Linked DNA regions of Homo sapiens: regions 1, 3 and 4 are each linked to region 2. Evidence: promoter capture Hi-C in human tissues and cell types (Jung and others, 2019). All regions are on one chromosome and are shown on one strand. Each heading gives the region's core, a stretch centred on a gene start or on the middle of the fragment in contact. The rest is flanking DNA. Distances are from core to core; before and after follow the strand shown.

Evidence for each region. Contacts are between HindIII fragments. The study calls those that stand out against the background at their distance.
Region 1: a contact is called between a fragment that was not itself captured here and the fragment with the promoter of GPR139 in region 2, in 1 of the 25 tissues and cell types used here (spleen).
Region 3: a contact is called between a fragment that was not itself captured here and the fragment with the promoter of GPR139 in region 2, in 1 of the 25 tissues and cell types used here (H1 embryonic stem cells).
Region 4: a fragment that was not itself captured here is called in contact with the fragment with the promoter of GPR139 in region 2 in 2 of the 25 tissues and cell types used here (aorta and dorsolateral prefrontal cortex).

What each region holds. Positions count from the first base shown.
Region 1 is chr16:20,305,170-20,308,873 of GRCh38, forward strand. No RefSeq gene overlaps it. Among named protein-coding and RNA genes, the nearest start is that of GP2, 20 kb to the right of the region's middle. The HindIII fragment of the contact is 5,150 bases long and covers 1-3,704 here.
Region 2 is chr16:20,071,383-20,075,251 of GRCh38, forward strand. GPR139 (G protein-coupled receptor 139) reads right to left here and starts at 2,508. Exons shown (of 2, transcript NM_001002911.4): 1 at 2,108-2,508. The coding sequence starts at 2,234. The HindIII fragment of the contact is 2,569 bases long and covers 1,603-3,869 here.
Region 3 is chr16:19,914,281-19,918,522 of GRCh38, forward strand. No RefSeq gene overlaps it. Among named protein-coding and RNA genes, the nearest start is that of GPRC5B, 32 kb to the left of the region's middle. The HindIII fragment of the contact is 7,764 bases long and covers 1-4,242 here.
Region 4 is chr16:20,234,660-20,238,492 of GRCh38, forward strand. No RefSeq gene overlaps it. Among named protein-coding and RNA genes, the nearest start is that of GP2, 91 kb to the right of the region's middle. The HindIII fragment of the contact is 3,450 bases long and covers 609-3,833 here.

The sequences.
Region 1 (3,704 bases), core at 2-2,501, 230 kb after region 2:
ATGTTTATGCATTGAAATGAAATATGTACAACTAGGTCCTTCCCCGTCTCCCCTATAAAGCCTATAAAGTCTTCTATGAAACAAAGTTAATTCCATTCTCAGACAGAGGCTCCCAGAATCCAGTGTTTTGGTTGGTCTCCGCTACAAATGCTTTTTCTGATATTTGTGTGTTTGCAAGTCCCTCTCTGAGACTTTCTAAAATTTGATTGTTAATTGGCTGTTATATGCATGAAGTTCTGGACTTGGTGTCCCAAGCTCTTTATAGATTTACTTTTTTTCTCCCCCTCCTGCCATTAAATAATCACCCTTGAGCTTCTCTCAACTTACTCTCCATCAATAACCATTGTATTCGTTCCATTACAGCCCTCCTAAATACAAAACAATGACGACAACAACAAACCATTCAAACTTCCAACCAACTTCCCCTGAAGGCACAGAAGGTGAGACCTAAGGGAAAAGAAATCCACCCTCTTTAACATCAGCTAACAGCATAGGAGTAAATGCCTGGTACAGAGCCCAGAATTCCTATTTCACATTCTGATTTGGCACTTTCACCATAATGGGAAAATCTCCTCTACTTTTCCTGTGAAGCTGTTTCTTCTCCTTCTGGAAGATAACAGCAGGATGATAGAGGAGGTCAAAGGATAAAGAGAAAGGATGCAGCCTATTTCTTCATTTATTTGACCAATAATGTTTGAAAATGATGAAGTCCTTGTCCTCAAGAAACTAACAGCCTGGGGTGAAGGGTGCAGGTGGGACAGATGTAAAAACAATTTCAGATGCAGACGCTACATGTGATTATCAAAGTCTGTAGAGTGGCTCATGCCTGTAATCCCAGCACTTTAGGAGGCTAAGGCAGGCAGATCACCTGAGGTCAGGAGTTCGAGACCAGCCTGGCCAACATGGTAAAACCCCATCTTTACTAAAAATACAAAAAAATAGCCAGGCGTGGTGGCAGTCACCTGTAATCCCAGCTACTCGGGAGGCTGAGGCAGGAGAATCACTTGAACCGGAGAGGCAGAGGTTGTGGTGAGCTGAGATCGCGCCACTGCACTCCAGCCTGGGCAACAAGAGTGAGACTTCATCTCAAAAAAAAAAAAAAAAAAAAAAAAGTCTGTAAAGAAGAGGTCATAAAGTAGGGTAGTAGTTTTTTAAAATATATATCTTCCTTTTCTCTACTTATCATGCTCATGCTTTTCTCTACTTTCTTGAAAAAAATGGAATGTATTTTTTAAACTGTGTTGACTTTCTGGTCTGCTGATTATATTATTTGTCGTTTGTGGGTCTATTTTCTATTGATTGATTTGCCTACTCTACACTGGACAGGGGGATCCAGGAAGCCTTCATAGGAGAAATAACCCCAATAAGGGGAAGTGTCCTCCAGGCAGCAAAACAGCACACGAGAGTAGGGTAGAGTGCAATAGAACAGCTCAGGGAGCCTGAGAAATTCCGTGGCACTGGAAGCTGGGTTATGAAGGGGATATGTTTAAGGGCTAAGTCTGGAGAGGCAGGCAATGGCTCAGATGGTGAAGAATGTGATCTGTCAGGTAAGCAGGCAGAACTCATCCTATAGAAGGTAAAGAGCCTCTGGAGCGATCTAAAGGAGAAAGTGTCTTTTGTTTTAAATGCTCACTAGCTGCAGAGTAGAGAATGGATTGAGAGAGGTGAGCCTGAAGAAAGGCCACTTAAGAAGCTATTATGGTGGTTAAGGTGAGAGATGAAAGTAGCCCGGAAAAGATCAGATTCAATGGGGTTGAAGAAAAGTGGATGAATTTGATAGACTTTTAGAAGGGAGAATCTAATATGATAGAAAATATGAGGGTGATTTCTGGCCCTTCACAGGAGAAAGAGGCTGAAAGAGAGGAACGGAGTGAGGAGAGATTATGAAATGAGTTAGGATGGGTGGGGTGTATCCTCTGGGGTTCCCATGCCAAATTTCCTTCAGGTGACCAGTTTTACCTTTCTCCCTGCCACCTTCATCCCTGCCTGGTCATTAAGGATGGACATGCCACTTGTCTTTGCTGGACCTTAATTTCCATCCATGAAATGAAGGGACTGGGATTGAGCCCTTCCCTCTTCTCCCAGGCTGGGCTGAGCTCTCCCTTCTCTGAGTCTTGCAGTATCTGTCTCAGTCTTACACTACTAAGCTTTTGCTGCCCAGTATCTGCATTCTGTTTCCCCAAGAAGAGTTGAAGTTCTTGGAGGGGAGGGCACCTTAAGCCACTCGGTATCCTCTACCAGCTGCTTGCAAAGGCTTCTTCAAACCTGAGAGGCCAGTCTTCCTGGGTATGGAAGACTAGTCTTCAGGTTGCTTCTGGCTATCCCCAACATCCTTACTCTCCAGAACTTTCAGATGCTGGGTCCAGGGCCCATTTCACTGAGCCCTCTGCAGCTGGAATTTATCTTGCCCCAGAGCCCAGCTGAACAGCACTGGGGGTGGGAGATGTAAGCTGATGGGAGAGAAACATGGCAGGAATCCTGGTTCTAGGAGAGTTGGATCCAGATCCTGTGTCTCGTAGGGATGTATGTGTGTGTTTATGTGTATATGTATGCGTGCATGTGCAGACATATGTGTGTGCACGTATGACACATTGGAGTGTCTCTGTGGGTTTTTTTTCTGTATTAAGTTATATGTGAAGTTCCATTGGTGTGTCTGCACTAAATCATGATGCATAAGTCAGCGCACACATCTCAACATCTATACGCCCATGACTATTAATGCCTGTGTATGTGTGAGGGCCTTTGCTGGAAAATGCATGTGTCTGTCCACATACCTGTTTGCAAGTGGGTGCATATATGTTATACACATATACGTTTGTGTGTATATGGGTGCCGCACTGTGTGTGTGTGTGTTTATGTGTGTGTGTGTGTTAAGTGTTATATATAAATGGAGGCAGGATACAGAGTCTAGTTTAGAGCATTTGCTTCAACGTCTGGCTACCTGGGTTCAAGCCCTGAAATCAGCATTTAAAAGCTATAGGCCTTTGAGTAATTATCTTTTTAAAGCACCGGTTTACTCGTCACTAAATTGAAGGTAATAATAGTGGCTACCTTCAATGTCTAATGTGAGGGTGGAATGATATAATGCCCAAAATGCACTTAAAATAATGCCTTATACGTAGGGGGTGTTAAAAAATATTGGTTGTTACAAAGTAATTCATGACAATAAATATGTAAGTGGCTGACTTGAGGGTCTCTGAGGCTTTCTGCATGTGCATCTGTGCCTTTGGGCACGTGAGGTTGATATGTGTGTCTGTTAGAATGTGTGTGTTGGTGTGGATAGACGCCTCTGGGTATACAGGCCTGTGTGGGGGGCTAAGTGGGCATGTGTGTTTGTGGTTTGCCTGTGAGTGCCTCTATGTGAGTTTGTGTTCTGCCAGGATTGGGAACATTCCTAGGGAAGGGATTGTGTCTAATTAATTATTGTACCCAGGCCCTTGGACCCGGGACATAAAAACTGCTAAGCAAATTTGTGTTGACTGAATGAATGAATGAAGTGGACTGGACATTCAGAGATTGTTATTCAGACAACATGCCCATTTGTAGAAAACAAAAAGGTGTAAATAGCTAGCTAGCTAGATGATAATTGAGTAGGGAGGTATGTAGACGATAGGTAGATAGGAGGTAGATGATGATAGATAGATAGATACATACATACATAGATAGATACATAGATAGATACATGGATAGATAGATGACAGGTA
Region 2 (3,869 bases), core at 1,258-3,757:
TCTTTAGGTTGCTTGGTCCTTACGCATCCATCTGCTGTCTTTGGAATCATGCGCTTGCATTTGGGAGCTCCTGGAACTCAGAGACTGCATCCTAGGACTTTGTGTCCTTTTGACACCCAGTTAATACTTAGCATACCATAGTGGCCAAAACTATTAGTTGAGGGTATGAAGACATCAACAACAGCTAAATCCTAATCCTAGCTTCATCCTTTTAAGTTCCCAAACTCTGGGCTAAGCCTGTGGCTAGCATAGTGCCTGGCATACAGTAGATGTCAATGCTGTGTGTCAGGAAGGCCCTAGCTGGCATAGGAGTTGGGATGTGAAGGTGCGAGGTACCTTGGCTTCCACCTTGAGGTCTTTAAAGGCCTAAGTTTTTCCTCATTTTCTCCATCCTCTTGTCCCTGCTTTGAACTCTTGAAGGGTCAACCTCTGCTTGTCTTTGTCTCTGTCCCTTAAATGGTTTCATTAGAAAAGCCTGGGATAGTGAGTGAGTGAGTGGCTATCTCACTCAGTAGAGGAGGTGCAAGGGTGGGTGGATTGTTGGGGGGACATTCTGATGGGAATGCTGAGGGGGAAAGAGGTTCTTACACTTTTCCAGTTCAGCAAGCATCATCAAATAACCAACCTTCTCAAAAACTCATTTCCCAAAACAGTGCTCTGGGGAGAGAAGCTCCGAAGGGCTGAAGGGGGGAGGTGGAACCTGGACTAAAATCAATCCCAGCTCAAGGTAATTACAGGACATGTGCTACCACCCCGGCAGGGCAAGTCAGAGGCTGAGCTGCTCTCCTAGGGCAGCCGTGGCGATTAGTTAGGAATAAAAGCCTCATCACTGGCTTGGGGAGAGAGGCTCACACATTAGTAAACTTGCGCTTTCTCATGCCTGCCAAATTTGGGAGGGGGGATTTATTGAAACAATCTCATCAGGGGCCCTGACTGCCAAGTTGAATGTTTGGGAAAGGAAATCTCAGCCAGGCTCTCAGAAATCCAGCTCCCAAGTTCCCAGGATCGCAAGATGCTAAGGTTCGCAGACTAAGAGATGACTAGGGAGATGATGCTAAGATTTCAGGCTGTACACTGGATTTTTTTTCTCTCTTTCTCTCTGCTTCTTTCAGTCCCTCTCTCCTCTCTGCATGCAAGTAATCTTTAGGGATCTATTTGTCACCAAGACTGCCTGCAAGGAGGGTCCACCCAAAGCTGGAGCCCCAGGAAAAAAGCTTTCTCTCTCTCTCGCTCTCTCTCGCACACGGCCCAGGCAAGCACTCCCTCCTTCTCGGCAGCTCAGCTCTCTTCAGGAATTCAGGACAAGTCTCAGCCACACTTTGGAAAGGACATTAAGATGTGGGACCAGCCAGACATCCACAGCAGCCGTGAGCTGCCCAGGGTGGGTAGACCTGGAGGCCAAGCCAGGGGGCCAGGCATGTCCTCAAGGAGACTGTGACCCCCTGAGGTGGCAGCCACCGCAGGCTGCCCTGTGTGTCTCTGCACCCTTGCCCTGGCCAGGGCATGGTCCCAGAGCCAACCCCTGATTCTCCTTAGCCAGCTGGGAGACCCTTTTCTTGCTAGGCATTCTTTCTCCATTCCAGTGCCCCCCGAGCAAGAGAGTGCTCAATGTCAGGGTCTCCAGCTTCATCTCGTGTCAGGCGGGGACACGCAGAGGGGCAGAGGTGCCCCAAGTGGGGTGGACGTGCAGGGGCCACGGGAGAAGGGAAGCCTCCACGAAGCCTTCTGTCCAGAACATGCAGTCAAGCCAAACACACACAAAGCCCTCTACGCCCCCACCCCATGAAAGCCGCCCCCTCCAGATGCGCGCACAAATGCACCTTCGAATCCATGCTCACATGCCCAGCCCATCGCCCGCCGTCACAGTCATCACACACACACACACACACACACACACGCTCGCGCGCGCACACACACACACACGGTCCCCAGCTAGGGCACAGCAACTTCCTTTCCCCCCGTGTGGAAATATCCATAGTTGCCCTTAAAGCTTAAACTTTTTCCGAGGGGGCGCCAGGGAACGCACGGGGGAGGACGGGGGATTCTGGGTAGGGTTGCCCGGCACTTGGGGTTCCTGGCTTCCCTCCCTCTCCCCCACGCCCCTCACCTGGTAAACCGAGGCACAGCAAGAGGCTGTAGTAGACCACGGGCACGAAACCCAAGCCGCAGGCCGAGCCGGGGGACCACCAAGACAGCGAGCTGTTGGCTGCGAGGTGGGCGTGCGTGTGCTCCATGAGCGCGCCCCTCGCTCCCCTTGCCGCTTCGCGCCCGGCCTGCCAGCCCGACTCTGGTCGCCGGCTCGGTGGTGGCGGCGGCGGAGGCAGCGGCAGCTGGAGCAGCAGCGCCTCTCTCCCCGCAGGACTGGCTCCTACCCTTGGCCGTGATCCCCTCTGCTCGCTCCGCACCTGCCCGCCTGGAGTCTTGGCTCAGCCCTCCCGCAGGGCGCGGGGCGCAGGGTGCGGGGCGCGCTGCGCGGGGCCTCGGGAGGGGCTCCCGGAGCCCGTCTGTGCGCCTCCCACCTCGGACCCGCTCCACTCCCGCCTCAAAGCCGGGGGGCTGGGACGCCGCTCCCCGCAGCCAATCAGCGGCTGCCTGGAAGCGGAGTGTGTGTGGGGTGGGAGGGATGCGGAAGAGGAGGGGGTCCCAGCCGCCTCGCTTGGCTCCACTTTCAGGGGAGAAGATGCAGTTAGACCTGGGAGCCCCGAAGGAAGACCGGAGTGGAAAACAGGCTATCCCCAATCTCCAACCCCGAGGGAGGGGCGTGGTGTGGGTAGGATCTGCCTCTCCCGCAGCGGCTCCTCACTCCTCCAGCGTGTCCTCAGTTTGCCTTTCTCCACTCTCCTCGCAGCCACCTCTCTTGCCCCTCTCCAATGCTTCCAGTCCATCTCCGGATAGAGGATTCTATACCTAGGGCAAAGAACGGGGGAAGGGGTGGGGCTGTTGGAGCAGCGAGGATGCTAAAGCGTTGTCGGTTTTCCTCGACAAGGGAAGCTGAGCTTGCTGGCTCTGGAAAGAGGGGTGCGTGCCTCCCTGTGCGTGTGTGTGGCGACTCTGGGGGTGGCCGCCGGTGAACTGTCCCCTAACTGGAGTGCGTTTGAAGAGGATACAGACTGGCTAAGAGAAGCCCCTCCTGCATGCCGCCCTTCAGTCAGGAATAAGGATGTTGCAGACACTCAAACACGCACTCGCCCACGCTCACACAAAGACACACAATACCCAGGCATGCGGTGTACTCACACGCTCACTCAGGCACGCGGATGCTCTCCCATCCCACACCCAGACCCTTGAAAACACGCAGGCATCCTCATCACCATGCACAAGACCACACTCACAGGGCGCTCCAAACATACGAAAACGCACGCGGGAGTCATGGGGGCTTGTCGAGAGTGCTTGAAGGTTGTGTGAAGGGTAGCATTTGTAAGGCAGGTGGGATCCAAGCAATGTGTGGGTGGGTGGTCCTTTCTCCTCAGGGCAGGCAGGTGGAGGGTTCCGGGTGTGGCCACCACAGACTTGAGGAGAAAGAGAGGAGAGAAAGAGAGAGAGAGAGAGAGAGAGGAGAGAGAGGAGAGAGAGAGAGAGAGAGAGAGGGACATAGTGTCTGTCTGGGGCTCAAGACAGTGAGTGTGAGAGAGTTAAAGATTCTGCAGGAACACCCAGGCCAGGCATCCCCAGGAGCAGACTGTAGCAGCTGCCTATGCAAAGAGCTGTGATGGGTCTGAGAAGCCTAAGACCCCCCGCCCTCAAACCCCCCACTCCCGCTGCTTCCCAACGCCCCTCACCCCTATATCACATCCATTCCTGGAGAGAAGGAACTGGCTAAGCTTTCCCCAGCCTCTTCCAGGTCTCCCAACGTGGAGCAGACCCCTGTC
Region 3 (4,242 bases), core at 14-2,513, 160 kb before region 2:
TGCAACCTCTGCCTCCTGGGTTCAAGTGATTCTTGTGCCTCAGCCTCCTGAGTAGCTGGAATTACAGGCATGCATCACCATGCCTGGCTAATTTTTTTTTGTATTTTTAGTAGAGGTGGGGTTTCACCATGCAGGCTGGTCTCGAACTCCTGACCTCAAATGATCCGCCTGCCTCAGCCTCCCAAAGTGCTGGGATTACAGGCTTGAGCCACTGTGCCTGTCCCATACCCAACTTTTACGTTAAGCACTAACTATGACTAACTTTTAAGCACTAAGCCAGTGAATTTGCTCGAGCCTGGAGTTACAACCTTGACTCTTGACTAGGCCACAATCACGTAAGTCTTCATGGTCAATGTGTAGCGAATCAATAATACTGTGTGCTCAATATGTGTTAGGCGCTGTGCTAACCTCCTTATATGCATTATCTCATTTAATTCACATAAGAAATCTATTATTCAAATTCTTATTCAAATAAGAAATCATACAGGTATAATTCTTGTTTTACAGGTAAGGAAGTGGAGGCTCAGGTAAGTTAAAAGACTTACCTGAGGGCTCTCAGTTGTAAAAGGTGATGTTAGAATATGAACATGGGTCTGTTTGATGCCAAGGCTTCGCCCAGAGTGGAAGGCATGCAGCTGGGTTTGCTGATGTGCCTGCGAGCCTGGGTATTTCTCCTTCCCCTGGTTCCTCATCTTCTCCCATTGAATGTGCTCCAACCATGCTGGTCTCCTTTCAGTTCTGAGAACAGACCAACCTCCTTCTTTTTATTTCTTTAATTTATTTTTATTTTTGAATAAAATAAAAATTATTTTTAATTTTATTAAAATATAATTTTTTGAATATTTTAAATATTCAAATTCGAGATGGAATCTCGCTCGTTAAATATATATATATTTATTTATTATTTTATTTTATTTTGAGACGCAGTTTTGCTCTTCTTGCTCAGGATGGAGTGCAGTGGTGCAATCTCGGCTCACTGCAACCTCTGCCTCCCAGGTTCTAGTGATTCTCCTGCCTCAGCCTCCTGAGTAGCTGGGATTACAGGAGTGTGGCACCACACCCAGCTAAGTTTTTGTATTTTTAGTAGAGAGGGGGTTTCATCATGTTGGCCAGGCTGGTCTTGAACTCCTGACTTCAGGTGATCCACCTGCCTCGGCCTCACAAAGTGCAGAGATTACAGGCGTGAGCCACCGCGCCCGGCCCACTATATTTAAAATATTCAAAAATATTTTTAAATTTTATTTTTATTTTTGAATATTTTAAAATTTATTTTATTTTTTAATATTTTTATTTTTATTTTTGAAAAATTAGTCAGCCATGGTGGTATGTGCCTGTAGTCCCAGCTACTCAGGAGGCTGAGATGGGAGGATTACCTGAGCCCAGGAGGTCGAGGCTGCAGTGAGCCATGATTGCACCACTGCCCTCCAGCCTGGGCAACAGAGTATTTTTTAAATTTATTTTTATTTTTATTCACATACCACCGCGGCTGGCTATTATTTATTTATTTATTTTGGTATTTTTTGTAGAGACGGGATCTCTCTATGTTGCCCAGGCTGGTCTCAAACTCCTGGGCGTAAGCGATCCTTCTGCCTTGGCCTCCAAAAGTGCTGGGATTACAGGTGTGAACCGCTGTGCCCCGGCCCAACCTCCTTCTCTTGGATCCTTTGTATTTGCTATTCCCTCTGCCTGGAACCTGCTCCCCACAACACTTTCACTTAATTATCTCCCGTTTATTCTCCCAGTCCATAACAGGGGCTACGTATTACCTCTCAATCATAATTTCCCCTTTTTGGTAATAAAACCCTGGGCAACTCTTTAGAGCTCACATGCCCCAGCCTCTCTTCCAGCGTGCGATATTCACGTAACTAGTTTTGGGCCAATGAGATGGATGTGGAATATTTTGTGAAACTTATGGTCAGCTCCTTAAGTGGACTGGGGAGGCGTCCCTTATGTCTCTAATGTCCTTGTCCCATGTTGTTGTCTGTGAGGCAGATGTAGTGGCTGGAGCTCTGGCAACCATCTTGGACCATGAGACAACCTTGAGGATGAAAACCACATGCTAAGGGGTATGGAGCAGAAAGACAGAAGGAGGCTGGGGTCCTGATAACTGCTGGAACTCCCAAATCAGTCCTGGGCTGCCTACTTTCTGATTTCCTGTGGAACAAGCGAAAAAAGAAGCTCTGTTTCACTAAAGCTACTAAGTCCAGCCTCTGTTACTATCAACTAAATAAAATTCCTGACAAATACCAGGTCTTGGTTTAAATATAACTTTCTGGCTGGGTGTGGTGGCTCACACCTGTAATCCCAGTACTTTGGCAGACCAAGGAGGGTGGATCACTTGAGTCCAGGAGTTCAAGACCAGCCTGATAGACATGGCGAAACCCTGTCTCTACAAAAGACGCAAAAATTAGCCGGGCATGGTGGTGTGTGCCTGTGGTCCCAGCGACTTGAGAGGCTGAGGCAGGATTGCTTGAGCCTGGGAGGTCAATGCTGCAGTTAGCTGTGATCACACCACTGCCCTGGATCCTAGGCAATAGAATGAGACTCTGTATCAAATAAATAAATAAATAAATAAATAAATAAATAAATAAATAAATAAATGTATATAAATATCACTTTCTCTGAATGGCTTATGTGAAACTCAAAATAGATCTGTCTATTTGTTCTCTCTTTTAGCAACATGGTTCTTTTTTTTTAATTGCCCTGATTCCAATGAAAATAAATATATACTGCTTTGTTTAATTTATCTTCCCCGCTGAACTACTGGAAATATGGGCAGGGAAACTGTATATAGTTACCTAGGTTGTGCACTGCACAAATCCAGAGAATACCAGTTAAATAATAGCATATGTGAATGTCACGTTCTGAAATTGTGCAGTGTGCATCCTGTGAGGCTGTACGTGGCAGCCCTGTCTCTATGGTCGGGAGGGACTTTGCCCCTGAGGGTTATCAATGTACTCACAGCACTTAGCATAGTGCCTGGACCATGATCAGTTCTCAACAAATATCAGTTGCAGGATGAGTGCAGGAACAAAAATGACAGAAGTTTAAAGACGTCTTGGGCTGGATACCGAAGGCACAGAGATGGACAAGGCATGAGAATGTTGGCAACAAGACGTGGTCAATGCTCCAACCTGGAGAAGAACAAAGGGCTCTGGGAGCTCAGAGGGAGGGGTCTCCACTGCCATGAGAGCCAGAGGCTTTGTGCACAGAGGGAGCTTTCTCTTATTTGGTCTCAGTTTTCCATCTGTAAAGTGAGGACATTGGTGCGGAAAAGTGGTTTTGTGTAGCCTTTATTTTTTATTTTACATCTTGTTTGTTTTGAGCAAGGCAATGTTTGCATAGTAATAGAATTAAACAGTGGCTAGGCACGGTGGCTCAAGTCTGTAATCCCAGCACTTTGGGAGGCCGAGGCAGGTGGATCACCTGAGGTCAGGAGTTCGACCAGCCTGGCCAACTGAAGGAAACCCCATCTCTGCTAAAATATAAAAAAATTAGCCAGGTGTCAGGATGCGCGCCTGTGGTGCCAGCTGCTTGGGAGGCTGAGGCAGGAGAATAATTTAAACCTGGGAGGCAGAGGTTGCAGTGAGCTGAGATCACGCCACTGTATGCCAGCCTGGGTAACAGACTGAGACTCTGTCTCAAAAAAAAAAAAAAATCAAACAGTATAAAAAGGCATAAAGGCATAAGGAGAAAAGTGAGTTTACTTTTCATTTCTAACTCCCAGAACCTCACTCTCCTAATGCCCCCCAAGGACCAAAACTACTGGTTACCTTTGAAATCAGTTTTTGTGTGTGTGTGTGTGTGTGTGTGTGTGTGTGTGTGTGTGTGTGCATCTTTCCAGAGTTATCTGTAAAATACAAGTATATACCTGCTATATATTGAGTTTGACTATCCCTAAAATGGAAATTTATCCTTATTTATTTATTTATTTATTTATTTATTTATTTATTTTGAGATGGAGTCTCGCTCTGTTGCCCAGGCTGGAGAGCAGTGGCACGATCTCGGCTCACTGCAAGGTCCGCCTCCCGGGTTCAGGCCATTCTCCTACCTCAGCCTCCCAGTAGCTGGGATTACAGGCGCCTGGCACCACGCCCGGCTAATTTTTTGTATTTTTAGTAGAGATGGGGTTTCATCGTGTTAGCCAGGATGGTCTCAATCTCCTGACCTCGTGATCCACCCGCCACAGCCTCCCAAAGTGCTGGGATTACAGGCGTGAGCCACCGATCCCGGTCGGAAATT
Region 4 (3,833 bases), core at 1,084-3,583, 160 kb after region 2:
ATGGTAATAATATTCAAAGAGTACAGTTCCAAGGCTGGATAAACAGGATATAGGACTTTCTTGCATAGCAGTCACATAAGAATACTGATAACCAAGCATTCATAACAACACCCTCCCTCCTTTCTAATCAGCACTCCTACATTAGAACGTTTCTTAGTAAATTGCACAAAATTCCTATCCATAATAGAAACAGTGCATGTTGCAGCTAGGTGATTATTATTATTTACTATCACCCGTAATTATACATAATTTCAATAATTGCCCAAACACAGACTACATGAATAAATATTCCTTAGGAAAACACAAATTAATGAAAAGAGAATCCAAGCTGGCAGTGAGATCTGTAGGATCCTGAGGGCACTTTCTCTTTTAAGTGAGGCCGAAGTGACAAGCACAGAGGGGATCACCGGGAACACGGGCTTGCCAGGCATTTGGATCTTCTTGGGAATGGATTCAGGACAGTGAGTATCTCTGGCTCAGTCTGTAACAATTTCTTTCTCCATCAATGACAAAGAATAATAGTTTAGCTGACCTGAATTTGCATTCTACTAAACTGGTGAGTGTCCTTCTGTTCCAGTGATCTTTCTTTCTCTCCTTTCTTCATTCAACAGTGATTGAGTAGCTGTCATGTACTGTGGACATTGTCCTGGGTGCTAGTGATACTGCAGGGTGCAAGACAGCCACGGAAACTGACTCGTTGGAGTTTATAGCATAGCATCCTTCTCCTCTTGGCTCTTGGAGTATGCGATCCAGTCTGTTATTCCACAAGTACTTGCTGATCACCTACCCTATGCCAGTCAGGGATCCAGATGTTGAGTAGTCTGCAGTAATCAAGCCAGATAAAGTCTTCCTCTCTTGGAGTTCACATATTAGAGGGAGAAGACTCATAAATACACAATTAAAGCAAGAGAATTACAGCCAGTGACAAGTGCTATGATGAAAACCTGGATTTGGGGCTGGGTGCTGTGGTTCATGCCTGTAATCTCAGCACTTTGGGAGGCCAAGGCAGGCGGATTACCTGACGTCAGGAGTTCGAGACTAGCCCGGCCAACATGGTGAAACCTTGTCTGTACTAAAAATACAAAAGTTAGCTGGGCGTGGTGGTGTGTGCCTATAATCCCAGCTACTCAGGAGACTGAGGCAGGAGAATCACTTGAAACTGGGAGGTGGAGGTTGCAGTGAGCCAAGATTGTGCCACTGCACTCCAGACTTGGTGACAGAGTGAGCGAGACTCCATCTCCAAAAAAAAAAAAAAAAAAAAAGAAAGAAAAGGAAAAAAAACCTGGGTTTGAATCCAAGCTTTGCCAGTGTCATATGTTCTTGAACATTTCACTGCTTTACATCTCAGAGTCTTAGTTTTCTCATCTGTAACGTGGGGGCAAAGACAGCACCTGCCTGTCAGGATCGAAGAAAGGAGTAAATGAAATATGGCATATAAAATACTTAGACAATGCCCAGCACATATTAGGCACTCAATAAATACGTATTTTTAAAAGAGCGAGAGATCTGCATCCTACTGGTGCTTCCAAGGTCAACTCAAGGCTTACCTCCTCCTTGAAGCGTTCAGTTGCCTCCCCCACCTCCTTCATGTCCTCCACCACACACAGTGCCTTCGCTCTTCTAGAACCAAGCTGAGTACTGCTGATTTATTTTACCTGCTAATTATCTGTCTCGCCAAACCTGACTAAGCTCCTTTAAGTCTTTTGCAACCCCACTCCCATGCACCTAACACCCTACTGAGCCCTTGGTAGGCGCTCAATACAGGTTTATTGATTGACAACATGTACCTGAGTTGACTTCCTTTGTCTTGATGCCTAGTCACCTTCTGTAGATAAGGTAAAGGGGAGATGTGTGTGTTGTGGTGTTGGGATCAAATTAGGAACCCCCTCACTCCTACAGGGAGGTTGGCACTCATGTGAGTAAGGCTATTAGGACTATAGTCCCCAGATTTACAAAGGCTGAATGCAGTAGATAACCCCCTCCTTTCTTGCATGAAGGAGAAATAAAGGATAATCGCAGGGCTTTCTTCAGCTCCATTTGTGTGTGTGAGGAGCGTTACACTGGCAGTAATTACAGAAGAAAAGGAAATGGAATAAGTGCCAAAGGATGAATTAGTTGTACTTGACCTAATTAAAATCTTGTAGAAAGAATTCTTCTCTTACTTGCAAAGGTGATCTAACATAACCTTGAAGCCATTGTATTAACCACTGTACTTTTCATTTTAACGGGAACAAATGGCAGAAAGATCACTTGGGAAAGGCAACATTTCACTCGCCTTTCAGAAATTAAATGACCCTGATTTCTGAACCACTTCCTCTCAATGAAATTAAATTGCATTGAACCCGGTCAGTTAACAAGGGGAAGTTAATCAAGCCAGAGGAGGAGTTCACCCAACTGATTCTCTGGCAGGAGGACTTTGGGAAGCTTCTGGAAAAGGAAAAACAAACAAACAGAGGAAAGAGGATTGGACCTTTGGTCGAAGTGTGCTGAATTTGATTTTTTGCTTTGTTTGAACACACACACATACACACAGAGGGGGACAGAGAGAGAGAGAGATGGAGAGAAACATAGTTGCTCCAGCGGTCTGGATATAACAACCACACCATGATAATGATCAATTGTGTATTTCTGATTGTACTAAGCCCTTTGTACGGGTTATCTCATTCATTCTTACATCTATTCATACAAGCTGCTATTATTCCCCCCATTTTGCATATAAGAAAATTGAGGCTCAGAGATGTCAAGTACTGGCTGACATCACATATCTTAACCAAATGACAGAGCTGGAGCCAGAATCCAGGTTGGCCAGATTCTGAAACCACTGTGGTATATTTTCAACCAAATTAGATGGGTGCTTGCCCACAGTCTCATTCATCACAATTCTGTGGATCTTTTGTTCCAACTAGGCTATGTCACTGATAGGACTGTTTTTCTCAAAATGCCAGTGGCCCTTTAATCAATGTGGGAGGTGCCTTTGTGGCATATAGGGTTATGGTTTCATAATGGTGAAACTTTTGTAACTTGCACTTAGTGGCTGTTCATCATGACTATTGTTCAGTATAAATTGGTAGGTGCATGAGAAATGCCATAGGTAAGGGCTTAACAGATAATGTGACTCTAGTCCTCATGGACTGATAATAGATTTTCCATCCAAATACGGGGAATGGAGCTACCAGTTGAGGTAGCTAAAGAGAGAAAAAGTATAGTGTAGTCATTATGTGTGCACACCTCGGGTTCTGATTGCCTCAGCAATCCTGGGATGTACCACTCTGTAGTTTTGCAACTTTGAGTAAATTATGTGAGATCTCTGTGACTCTATTTCTTCATCTTCAGAATGGAGAGGATTACAGTACCTACCGTGTAAGTGTGTTGTGAAGATTAAATGACAGAATTATACAATTAGCATACAGTAAGTGCCTAGTGAATGTTCGTTCTTAAGATTCAAAATTTGGTCCCTGGTCATCGAAAAACCTGAGCTTCTGGAAGAAGACAGAAGTGGTCAGTTCCCTGGAAGCTGGTTACCAAGAGAGACCTGTTCAGAGATGAACTGGGTTTGAACAGATGGAGGAAAAGGAAACTAACAGCTAGGAAATGGAAGTGTCCATAGGATTTGCTGTGTTCTCAGCAAATGTCTCAGGTAGGTGTCCAGGGACAGAACCCTTGCTAGGTAAACCTAGGTAAGACAGAGGGAGTGAATGCAACTCAGGAGAATCCCTCCATATTTTCATCCTTCAGTCCATTTATTCTTCTGTCTTTCTATTCTTCTATCCTTCCACCCTTCCATTCATCCATCCACCCATCCTTTCCTTCTAGAGTCTGCCATCCTTCTAGAC